Regions from separate parts of the Homo sapiens genome. Here all the other regions are linked to region 1. The links are contacts of gene promoters, found by promoter capture Hi-C in blood cells and fetal thymus (Javierre and others, 2016). All regions are on one chromosome and are shown on one strand. The core of a region is centred on a gene start or on the middle of the fragment in contact, and the rest is flanking DNA. Distances in the headings are between cores, read along the strand shown. Region 1 holds the start of ELL2 (elongation factor for RNA polymerase II 2). Region 2 overlaps LOC101929710 (a long non-coding RNA gene). Region 3 overlaps LOC101929710 (a long non-coding RNA gene).

Evidence for each region. The method cuts DNA at HindIII sites, captures the fragments that hold promoters and counts their contacts. A CHiCAGO score of 5 or more calls a contact.
Region 2: a fragment that was not itself captured here is called in contact with the fragment with the promoter of ELL2 in region 1 in 3 of 17 cell types (naive CD8 T cells, total CD4 T cells and naive CD4 T cells); the score reaches 6.6 in naive CD8 T cells.
Region 3: a contact is called between a fragment that was not itself captured here and the fragment with the promoter of ELL2 in region 1, in 8 of 17 cell types (M2 macrophages, M1 macrophages, M0 macrophages and 5 more). The highest score is 8.9, in M2 macrophages.

The regions. Positions count from the first base shown.
Region 1 is chr5:95,959,940-95,963,142 of GRCh38, forward strand. It overlaps ELL2 (elongation factor for RNA polymerase II 2), which reads right to left and starts at 1,912. Exons shown (of 12, transcript NM_012081.6): 1 at 1,636-1,912. The coding sequence starts at 1,782. It overlaps LOC101929710 (a long non-coding RNA gene), which reads left to right and starts at 2,062. Exons shown (of 5, transcript NR_130776.1): 1 at 2,062-2,097. It also overlaps a transcript of CAST not described here. RefSeq lists silencers at 1,326-1,735, 1,806-2,045, 2,001-2,468 and an enhancer at 1,764-2,521. The HindIII fragment of the contact is 3,633 bases long and covers 1-3,158 here.
Region 2 is chr5:96,537,877-96,540,903 of GRCh38, forward strand. All of the region lies in intron 4 of LOC101929710 (a long non-coding RNA gene), which reads left to right. It also overlaps a transcript of CAST not described here. Among named protein-coding and RNA genes, the nearest start is that of PCSK1, 110 kb to the left of the region's middle. The HindIII fragment of the contact is 4,378 bases long and covers 1-3,027 here.
Region 3 is chr5:96,595,416-96,598,688 of GRCh38, forward strand. The region is part of intron 4 of LOC101929710 (a long non-coding RNA gene); the gene reads left to right. It also overlaps a transcript of CAST not described here. Among named protein-coding and RNA genes, the nearest start is that of CAST, 65 kb to the right of the region's middle. The HindIII fragment of the contact is 7,507 bases long and covers 1-3,273 here.

The DNA of each region.
Region 1 (3,203 bases), core at 662-3,161:
CGTGCACAACTAATGCCTTCCTCTGTGTGCACACTTATGGGGTGGGGGGGCTCTCTGAATACACTCCCAGTAAACCAGGGTTCACACCTCTCCTGCCGCTCTGCCTCAGACTCTGCCTTCGCTCTATGTATTTAAAGTGCCTGGCACTAGTGGGAGCTCAACAGATGTCAATTCTTTTCCCCACTTTTAGCTGAATAACTATGTGAATCTGTGTCTCGGTGTCCTTCTGCCCCTCTGTCTGTTGTACGAGACCGGTTGGAGTGTGTTCCTCAGTACCGAACGGGCTATTTGTAAGATGCCCCGTGGGTTCTATCTCCCTTCCGACTCTCTCCTCTCCTGTAAAACGTTACAGGTTCCCCCATATGGCATATCCCTCCCTCACGCGATGTATCCACTCCGGTCTCCCACAGTACTGCATGTCCATAAACTGTTTCCCCATGCACCCTGGTTACCGCGTCCCTTCTCGGTGCTTCCCTGTCTCTCCCATTTTTTTTCCAACATGAAAGCGTCTGGATTTGTAGTCCAATTACAGTGTATGTGCGCCTATCTGAGCCTCTCTCTGTACTGGAGGGGTGTGTGTGTATATGTGTGTGTGTGTGTCCATGGGCTTCTCTCGAAAACGAGGGGTGAGAGGCCCGAGTCTCTGCCCGGGATGCATTGTATCCTCCCCACACCTTCTGGCTCTGGCTCGTTCCCCGTTTACACTTCCCAGAGTCAGCCCAAGACGCCGGGAGCTTTTTCGGGTACGTTGAGCGTCCGTGAACCTCTCTCTCCAGAACCCGATGTCTTGCTCCCGGGGAGCGCTAAGTGTGCGTGAGTCCTCAGGTCTCTCCCCAGGGCACTGTGTTGGTTTGTGTCCGTCCTGGACGCGGCGCGTCTCCAGTAACGCGATGCGCCGGTGTCCCGGAGTCCCTGGGAATGCAGGTGTGTCCCCTCCCCCCCCGTACGCGAAGCGCCAGTGTCCCCGCCGTTCCAGTGTGCGCCGCCCCCTTACACGGACTGCCTAAGTCCCTATCTCTATGAGTACACCGTGTGCCCCTCACCATGCGCCCGAGTCCCCATCCCTTCGAGCACACAGTGTGTCCCCTGATACGTGGAGCGCCTGTGTCCCCAAGTCCCTGGGAATACAAGGTCCCACCCCCACACGCGGAGCGCCTGTGTCCTGTCTCTGAGGATCCACCGTGCCTATGTAACTGGAAAACGCGGGCAGCTGGTGCCCGCGAGTCGTCCCTGGTTCCTTGCCCATACGCTGCTCGCTACCCTCCTTCCCCGCCGAGGGTAGCGTGGTCATCTCACTTCTCTTATCGGGGCCTCTCTCCCTCCTTGGGACCCAACAAGCCAGGAAATCCTCGGGGGCCGTCGGAAAGTCCCGCAGCGGCAGCGCAGCCGACCCAGGGCTGCGGCTGCCTCGGCCCCGCCGCCAGGGGCCGCCCGACTGCCCGCTTCCCCAACGCCCAGGCTAGCCCGGGACCGCGGCGTCAGCCACCCTGCCCGGCCCTGCCCTGCCTGGCCGCTGCGGGCGCTGACGGTAGCAGCTGCCAGCCACGGCTCCGCCGGCCCCGCACCCGGGCGCGGCCAGGCCGTGAGGGGTGCGCTCTGCCTCTCTGAGCCCAGCCTGCCGGCCGGCCCGCTCACCTTGTGGCTCTGGTAAGTCTCGAGCGCCCGGATCGCCGTCTCGGTGAGCTTCACATGCAGTACGGTGATGTTGTCCTGCCCCAGCCGTCCGCACGACAGCCCATAGCGCTGCTCCTCCCGCAGGCCCCCTGTCCCCCCCGCCGCCATCTTAAACTCCCCGGGGTGCCGCCGCCGCCGCCGCTCCGGCTCTAGCCTCCACTGCGGCCGCGGCTGCTTGGGCTTCTGCAGCCGCCGCCACTGCTAGGGCCATCCCGCTGCTGACGTACTGTCATATACTGCGCGGAGCCAGACCTCGGACTGCCACCGCCGCCACCCGCCCCACCCTCCGGCCCCGCGCCCCGCCCCGGGCTCGTCTCATTGGTCTTGTTCCCTTCAGAACCGCCCTCATCGGCCGCCCTCCACTCTCACGGGGGCGGGCCCAAAGTCACTAGAGTTTTGCTCCTGGGACGGGACGTCCGAGAGGTAAGAGGCTGACGTCTAGGTGACGCGCCAACTTAATCATGTCTGACGTCACGTCTGGTCGTCTTGGCTAGCCGGCCGAGATTGGCCAGGCTGGCTTGGGGACTCCCCTGCTAATTGGAAGTCCAGGTTGCCTGGTCTGGTTACCTGGAGTTGGAGCCCCGCCCCTGTGGGGGATAGTAGTGAAAAGTCAGAATTGGGGAATCTCGCCCTACGCGGGTGGTCCTTGGAGAGGAGGATCTCCACCTCCACTATGTAAGGGGATGGCCGTGACCAAATAAGGACTTTGTTCCCCGACGGCTGCGGAAGCTGTGGAACTTGGTGCGTGCGTGTGGGGGAGGACGCAGCAGGAGGACTCGCTAGAGAGCTGCTCCTCAAAACTCCTAGTACTGTAGTTGAGCAAACGGCATTGGGAGGAAACTGCTCACTCTAAACTTGAAGTTATCGGGTGCCACACGCAGAGCTTATAAAAACAAAAACAAAAACAAAAACCCTTGAAATTAGTGAGTCGACTCTTAGATGTAGGAGTTGTGTTAGATCTTGTGGAGCATCTTAAGGACAAAATCACGCGGGAGGTTAAATGCCTTTCGTATGGTGGGCATGGTATAATAGAGAATTGAGCTTCGAGGTCTTTCCTACGCCATGCCCTGTTGTGATTCTCTGGGATCACAACTGGTGGGGATGATATCTCCTTAAAAAGGACTCTAGAAGAAGAGTAAAACTGGCATTGATCTAAATTAAAAGAAACCTCGACAATTCTCATTCTCTAATTCAGTTTGAGTATTGTCCTTTTTATTTGATAGGGCTGTGTGAAAACCTAGCTAGGGTTTAAAGGTAAGAGGCTGTCGAGGTTAAGCGAAGGAGATGGGGGCGTGAGGGGCGTGCAAAGGCCTGGCATACTTTCCATTCCATCCACAGGATGCTTCCTGTGTAGGCGTGGCTAAAAGAGGGAGCCTAATCTGGAGTCCCTTTCAGATTGTGTGTGGATAGACTGACAGATGGGTTCCTGTCAGAGGATGGATTAATTGGTTGATCAGAAACACCAGATAAAACAAACCATTGAAAGCTTTCAAACTGTTGAAAGGCAGTTTAAAAAAGTTCTTTTAATA
Region 2 (3,027 bases), core at 451-2,950, 580 kb after region 1:
TATATTGTATATCATGTAGCAAAAGCATCCTTTATATCCATATTGATCCTGTCAACTCCTCCCCTAAAATATCTCCCTGCAGTAGCTTTCATGCTTTCAGCCCTCTCTTTCACTTGGCCTCATTCTTCTCCACCTCTCTAGTAGGCAGGCTCTATCTGTTTTCTCTCCCACCCCTCTGAAAACCCCAGTCAGAGCATGCAATCTACACACAAGGCAAAGACTGGTTAAACAGCCAGCAAAAGAAAAACTGTTTGTTAGACAAACCAGGTCACCTGGTGTCCTTCAAGCCTTCCCGCGAGTAGCTTCCTTTCAAACCTCCACATAGGTTATCAAGAGCAGTGTCAAGTTCTAGGGATGGGCTCTTTAAAGGGATACAATTACCAGTTAATTTGAAGCATCTAGGAAAGGAGGTGAGTGAATAGTAATTGATAGAGGTATGAAACTACGTAGCAATATGTGGATATGATCCTTATATCATACCTATCTGAAAGTAAAAGAATTTTGCTTTTCTCATATTTATCTGTTAGAAAAGATAAGGTTTGGAAAGCCTTTTGGAAATCAACTTGCTTTGGACATCACTGAAAAGCATGCAGATTAAAAACAACAAACACTAGGCTAGCAAAGTAAATGACCAATTACCTAAAAGCATTTGAAGATGTTATTAAACTTTGGAACATCTCTTGAATTTCTGAATTGATAATATAGTCAGAATTAATGTGCAGATTTGGAGATGTTCAAGTAGTTAAAAATGGTCCTGGACTAACCTCAATCTTGTTTTGCAACATCTGTTTTTTTAAATTAAAAAAAAAACAGAAAATGTAACATTGAAACACTGTCTCTTCACTCATACATAAGACCCCCCCACACACACACCGCTCCCTCAGAAATGAAATGAGCTTTGGGATACTGTCTCTGTATCACATCATAAGACATAGAAATATCAAGTTACTCTAATTTGCAGTTTGGGGTTTAAAAAAAATCTCAGGAAGTGAAGATCAAAAATCAATATCAAATGACTCAGAGAGGTATTCTGCTGCTATCAGGTCACCCAAAGAGGAAGCACTTCATATTTGGTCAATATGGTAGCAGCATATCACTCTGAATTGTATAGGAAATAGACCACAGAACTTTCATTATAAAGATCTTGCTAAATCAATGACTAACATTTGCAGTTAAAACAAATCCAGACTATTCTCTCTTATTTGTATTTTCTCATAAAAGTATGTATGAAGACAATCACAGCAAATGTCAAAATATCACCATTTTTTAAGATTCAGCAGAACTGACTCATAGTGTTCAAAGTTCAGGGATATAGTGAGTTGTTGAGAAAAACCGAAAAACTTAAGAGTCAAAGTCTTGAAACAACACACTTAGAGCCTATTCTAATGGGTAATGCAAACTTTATATCATGCCAATTGTTTGAAGTGGCAGCTTTTATTCTGTTATTAAGTGCATAAATATTTAGAATTGCATGTCTTCTTAGTTAATTGACATTTTATTATTTTGTGAAGTGACAGTTTTTATTCTAAATAATTTTGTTTTTTGTGAAATTTACTTTGATATTAATATAGCCATTCAAACTTCCTTTCAACTCATGTTTCTATGTCATCACTTTTCCATCCTTTTACTTTTAACCATCGCTTTTCATCCTTTTATTTTTGCTCTGTCTTGTAAAGTTCTATAGGTTTTGACAAACATGTCATGTCATGTATCCATCATAATAGTATCACACAGAACAGTTTCACTGCCCTAAAAATTCCCTGCGTTTCACCTCTTCATCCCTGTCTCCTGCCCTGAACCACTTATATTAAAAGTGAGTTTCCTTGTATCAATAATAAATAAATAAAAAGTGAATCTAAAAGAATCGATTTCTCATGGACAGCACATAGTTTGATCTTCCTTTTTAAACCTAATCCTGCAATTGCTGGCTTCAATTGGTGTATTTACACCGTTTACATTTAATGTGACTACTGAGATGGTTGGGTTTAAGTCTACCACCTTGTTTTCTATTTGGGCAATCTGTCCTTAGTTTATTTTTTTCTGCCTTATCATAAATTAATTATTTACATGATTTTATTTTTTCTTCTTTGGTGGCTTATTGGACATAGCTTTGTTTAATGGCTGTTTTAGTATTTATAGTATACCTCTTTATCTTACCATAGTATAGCTTCAAATATGTGTAGTATAAGAATCTTATAACAATATATTCCCATTTCTCCCCTCCTAGCCTTATGCTATTGTGGGCTATAAATCTGTTTATACATATTAGCTCCACAATGTGTTGTTTCTATTTTTTTCTTTTAAACAGTTAATTATATTTTTTAAATATTTAAATCATAAGGAAAAAAGTCAGCCCATGTAGTTACTGGTCGTATTGCTTTTCATTTATTTTTATAACCCCTATCTCCATCTGTTATCATTCTCCTTCTGCCTAAAGGACTCTTTAAAACATTTTTTTTCCTTATCGCACATTTCTGATGTTTATGGATCCTTTCAGATTTTGTATGTCTGAAACAGTATTTATTTTACCTTTATTTTTATTCTTGCAGTAACTTTTTATTAATGACTTTATTTTTAGAGCAGTTTTAGATTTATAGAAAAAATAAGCAAATAGTACAGAAAGCTCTCATATATCCCCACATATACAGTTTCTCTATTATTAACATCTTACTTTAGGATAGTACATTTCTTAAAATGAGCAAACCAATGTTGATACACTATTATTAATTAAAATTCATAGTTTATTTAGATTGCTTTAGTTTTTACTTAATGTTCTTCTTCTGTTTCCGGATCTCATCCTTGATACTACATAACTTGTGGTTCTCAGGTTTCCACAAGTTCCTCTAAGCTCCGGTAGTTTCTCAGACTTTTGTTGTTTCTGATGACCTTGACAGTTATGAGGAGTATTGGTCAGCTATGATGTAGGATGCTCCTCTATTGGAAACTGCCTGATATTTTTCTCATGCATAGTATAGAGGTATGGGTTTGGGGGAGAAAAATTACAGAAGTAAAGTGCCCTTTTCATTG
Region 3 (3,273 bases), core at 351-2,850, 640 kb after region 1:
AGGGAAGCTGTGAATCAGCAGCAGAACTCCAGGCCTCAGGGAAGGGCCACCGAAGGGGAAGACAGGACCCCAGTCATGGAGGGAAGTGGGGTCAGGGAATCTTCCCAGAACAAGACCTCGAAAGGACCAGAGCAGAAGCCTGACTCATAACCAATGCCAAGGGTGGGATGGGGAGCAAAGAAGCAGAGACAGTGATGGGCTCAGGCAAGGCACTCAGTTGGATGACACAGAACCTGAAATGGATAGGGAGAATAAAGGAGAAGGCCACCTAGAGGCCAAAGAAAGTATTTCAGGGGAACGAGGAAGAAGAACATAGAGAAAATATGCAGAACTTAGATAAAAAACATATAGCTTGGTTAGAGAAAAAAGACAAATATATATGAAACAAAATAGAGTTAAAATTCAACATAACATATTAGACCCAAATAATGGAGTTCTTATTTAAGTACTATGAGAAGTCAAAGTGAGTTGGAGAAGGGAGAGAAGGCTTCCTGGAGGAGGTGGCGTGGCATAAGACCTGGATGTTCAAGGAAAAAATATTCAATCCACTCAGGAGGGATATACTGAGCCTGCAGAGAGCTGCAAATGGGGTGGTCTCTATAAGGGGTTTGTGCTTAGGAGTGTGAGGTGTAGGAATAGTATGGTAGGCTGAATCATGCCTCTTCCAAAGATGTCCATGTCCTAATCTCATCCCCCAGAACCTGTGAATATTGCCTAATATGGCAAAAGGAACTTTGCAGATGAGATCAAGGGATTGAGATGGGTAGATTGTCCTGGATTAGCCAGGTAGGCCCAATACAGTCACAGTTGTCCTTACAAGAGGGACACAAGAGGAGTCAGAGCCAGAGGAGAAGACTGACTCCTGAAGATGAAACCAGAGGCTGGAGCAATGTGTTTTGGAGAAGGAGGAAGTAACTACAAGCCAAGGAATACAGTCAGCCACTAAAAGCTGAAAAAAGCAAGGAGACAGATTCTCCCCTCAGAACCTCCAGAAGGAACGACCCCACCAACCTCTTGATATTTGCTCAATCAAACTGATTTTTTGCTTTTGCCTCCAAAATGGTAAGAGAATAAATTTGTGTTGTTTGAGCCACTAAGTGTGTTGTAAATTGTTTCAGCAAAAATAGGAAACTAAAACCAGCAATAGGAAACATGGACTAAGCTATAGAGCTCTTTGTGGTCACTACAGCCATGCTCATGAAAAACAAATGTAGCCAAGCATATGAGGGAACTTGCTGTGAGATGCTTTCTTCTGTGTTCATGATGGAACACAGCAGCCCACCTCGAGATAAGCCCTGGAGAGTGGAGGCTCCACTGAATTCAACCTACAGCACCATGTTGAGAATCCTCAGCTGCCAACAGGTTTTTTCTCACAGTCTGGAGGCTGGAAGTCTGAGACGAAGGTGCCAGCAGGGTTAGTTTCTAATGAGGGCTCTCTGACTTGTGTTTGGTGATTTTCTCACTGTGTGCTCACATGGCCTTTTCTCTGAGCATGTGAGGAGAGAGAGATCTCTGTTGTCTCTTCCTCTTTTTATATGGACACCGGTTCTATCAGATTAGGGTCCAACCTCTATGACCTCATTTAACCTTATTACCTCGTTAAAGGCTCTATCTCCTAATACAGTCATATTGGGCATTAGGGCTTTAACATGTGAATTTTGTGGGGGACACAGTTTAGTCCATAACAGGTGACAGTGATCAAGATGGCATCATCCTGTACTTTTAGGATCCACGACCTCATATATTTCATTGTTATGAAGAGCATATCAGAAAGCAAAATGAAAAATACTTGCAAAACATCTTTTAATTTTCATGCATTCTCAAGACTTTCCTAATGTCAGAATATGTCAAGGAATTTATCCATCTGCCCTAAAAAAGAAAAGGATACCAGGTGGGATACTGTGGCCTTTTCCCCCACTCACCTACGTGAAATACTAATTATAGAAAGTACAATGGAGAAAATATTTTGTGTAAAACCTTGCAGCTGGGACCCTGCTGTCTGGACGTAATTATACAAACTGGAATTGATTTCAGGCAGGACAAGAAGGCTACCATCCCAGCTACATGAAGTGCCTAGGGAGCTCCTCTAATTACCACTAACTAGAGATTTAGTCTTATATCTCTTTCAAATAACGTCAGCAGCAGCAGAGGCAACCTGCACCTTCCAACATCACACTCCTCCGTTAGTTTGCTCTGACTCACCCTCCTCTCATCCTACCCGTGATGAACTTTCCATTGAGTGATTTATTTTTCCATATACTGAGTAGCACTTAAGCAACTGCCTTCTTTTCACCTTCTTTCTTTCCTACCAAATAATTATCGTGTCTCCTCTATGCAAGGACATTCATATATGCTATTTATTCAGGCCTCATTATAACCCTGCTAAGTAAATATCATCCCTCTAGATGTGTAAAGTGGGGGTCAGGGTGGTTTTGTGGCTTGACAACAGCATTGAGTCACCCCAGTGAGGATCTGGAGGGGTGGAAGAAGAAAAGAAAGGGGGAGAGAAAAATGGAAAAAGAAGGGGGGAGGGGGAGAGGCCAGCAGTACTAGGGGGCTGGCAGTAGTGAAGTCTGCAAGGCTCTATCTCTACCTCCCCACAGGGTCAAGATGACTCTACACACTCCCGAAGGTCCTGTGCTCAGAGACTAATTCCATGAAAATTCATTGTAATCAGAGCTTGTACAACCTGCTTGATGAGAATTCGCTGGACTTGCTGCCCATACATAACAAAATGGTAGTGCTTCTCTATAAATAAGCTCTGGCTCCTCTGCCTAATGAGGGCTTACACTCAGCCTACAGGAAAACATGTTCTGTCTTTGCCATCAATTTCCTTTGGTGCCCAGTGCATGAAAATAACTTTTTTTTGCCTTTCATGGACTTCTCTCCAGCCAAATTAGAACAGGACCCCCAAGTCTGCCCAAAGGCCAGCTAGTTCCCTGGGTCAGCCTCAGATATGACCAGAGCCAAGAAGTCCTGTCATATCCCACCCATCCAAGCACTGGGGAAAACTGGCTCCCCTCTCAGCTGCCCTGTCTCTAGGGCTGCAGCTTTTATGTCTTTGGGAAGATTTGCAATGGCCTGGCTCTACTTCTCTTATTTCTCTCTGTGGCCTCTGAGTTGGGTGACATGGGCTGGATCCCACAGGACAAATCAATAAACATTGTCCTACCTCCGTTTTTCTATGAGAAAAATGGAAAATAATCACTGAGATAGTTAATTTTATATGTCAACTTGACTGGGCCATGGGGTGCCCAGGTATTTGGTCACACA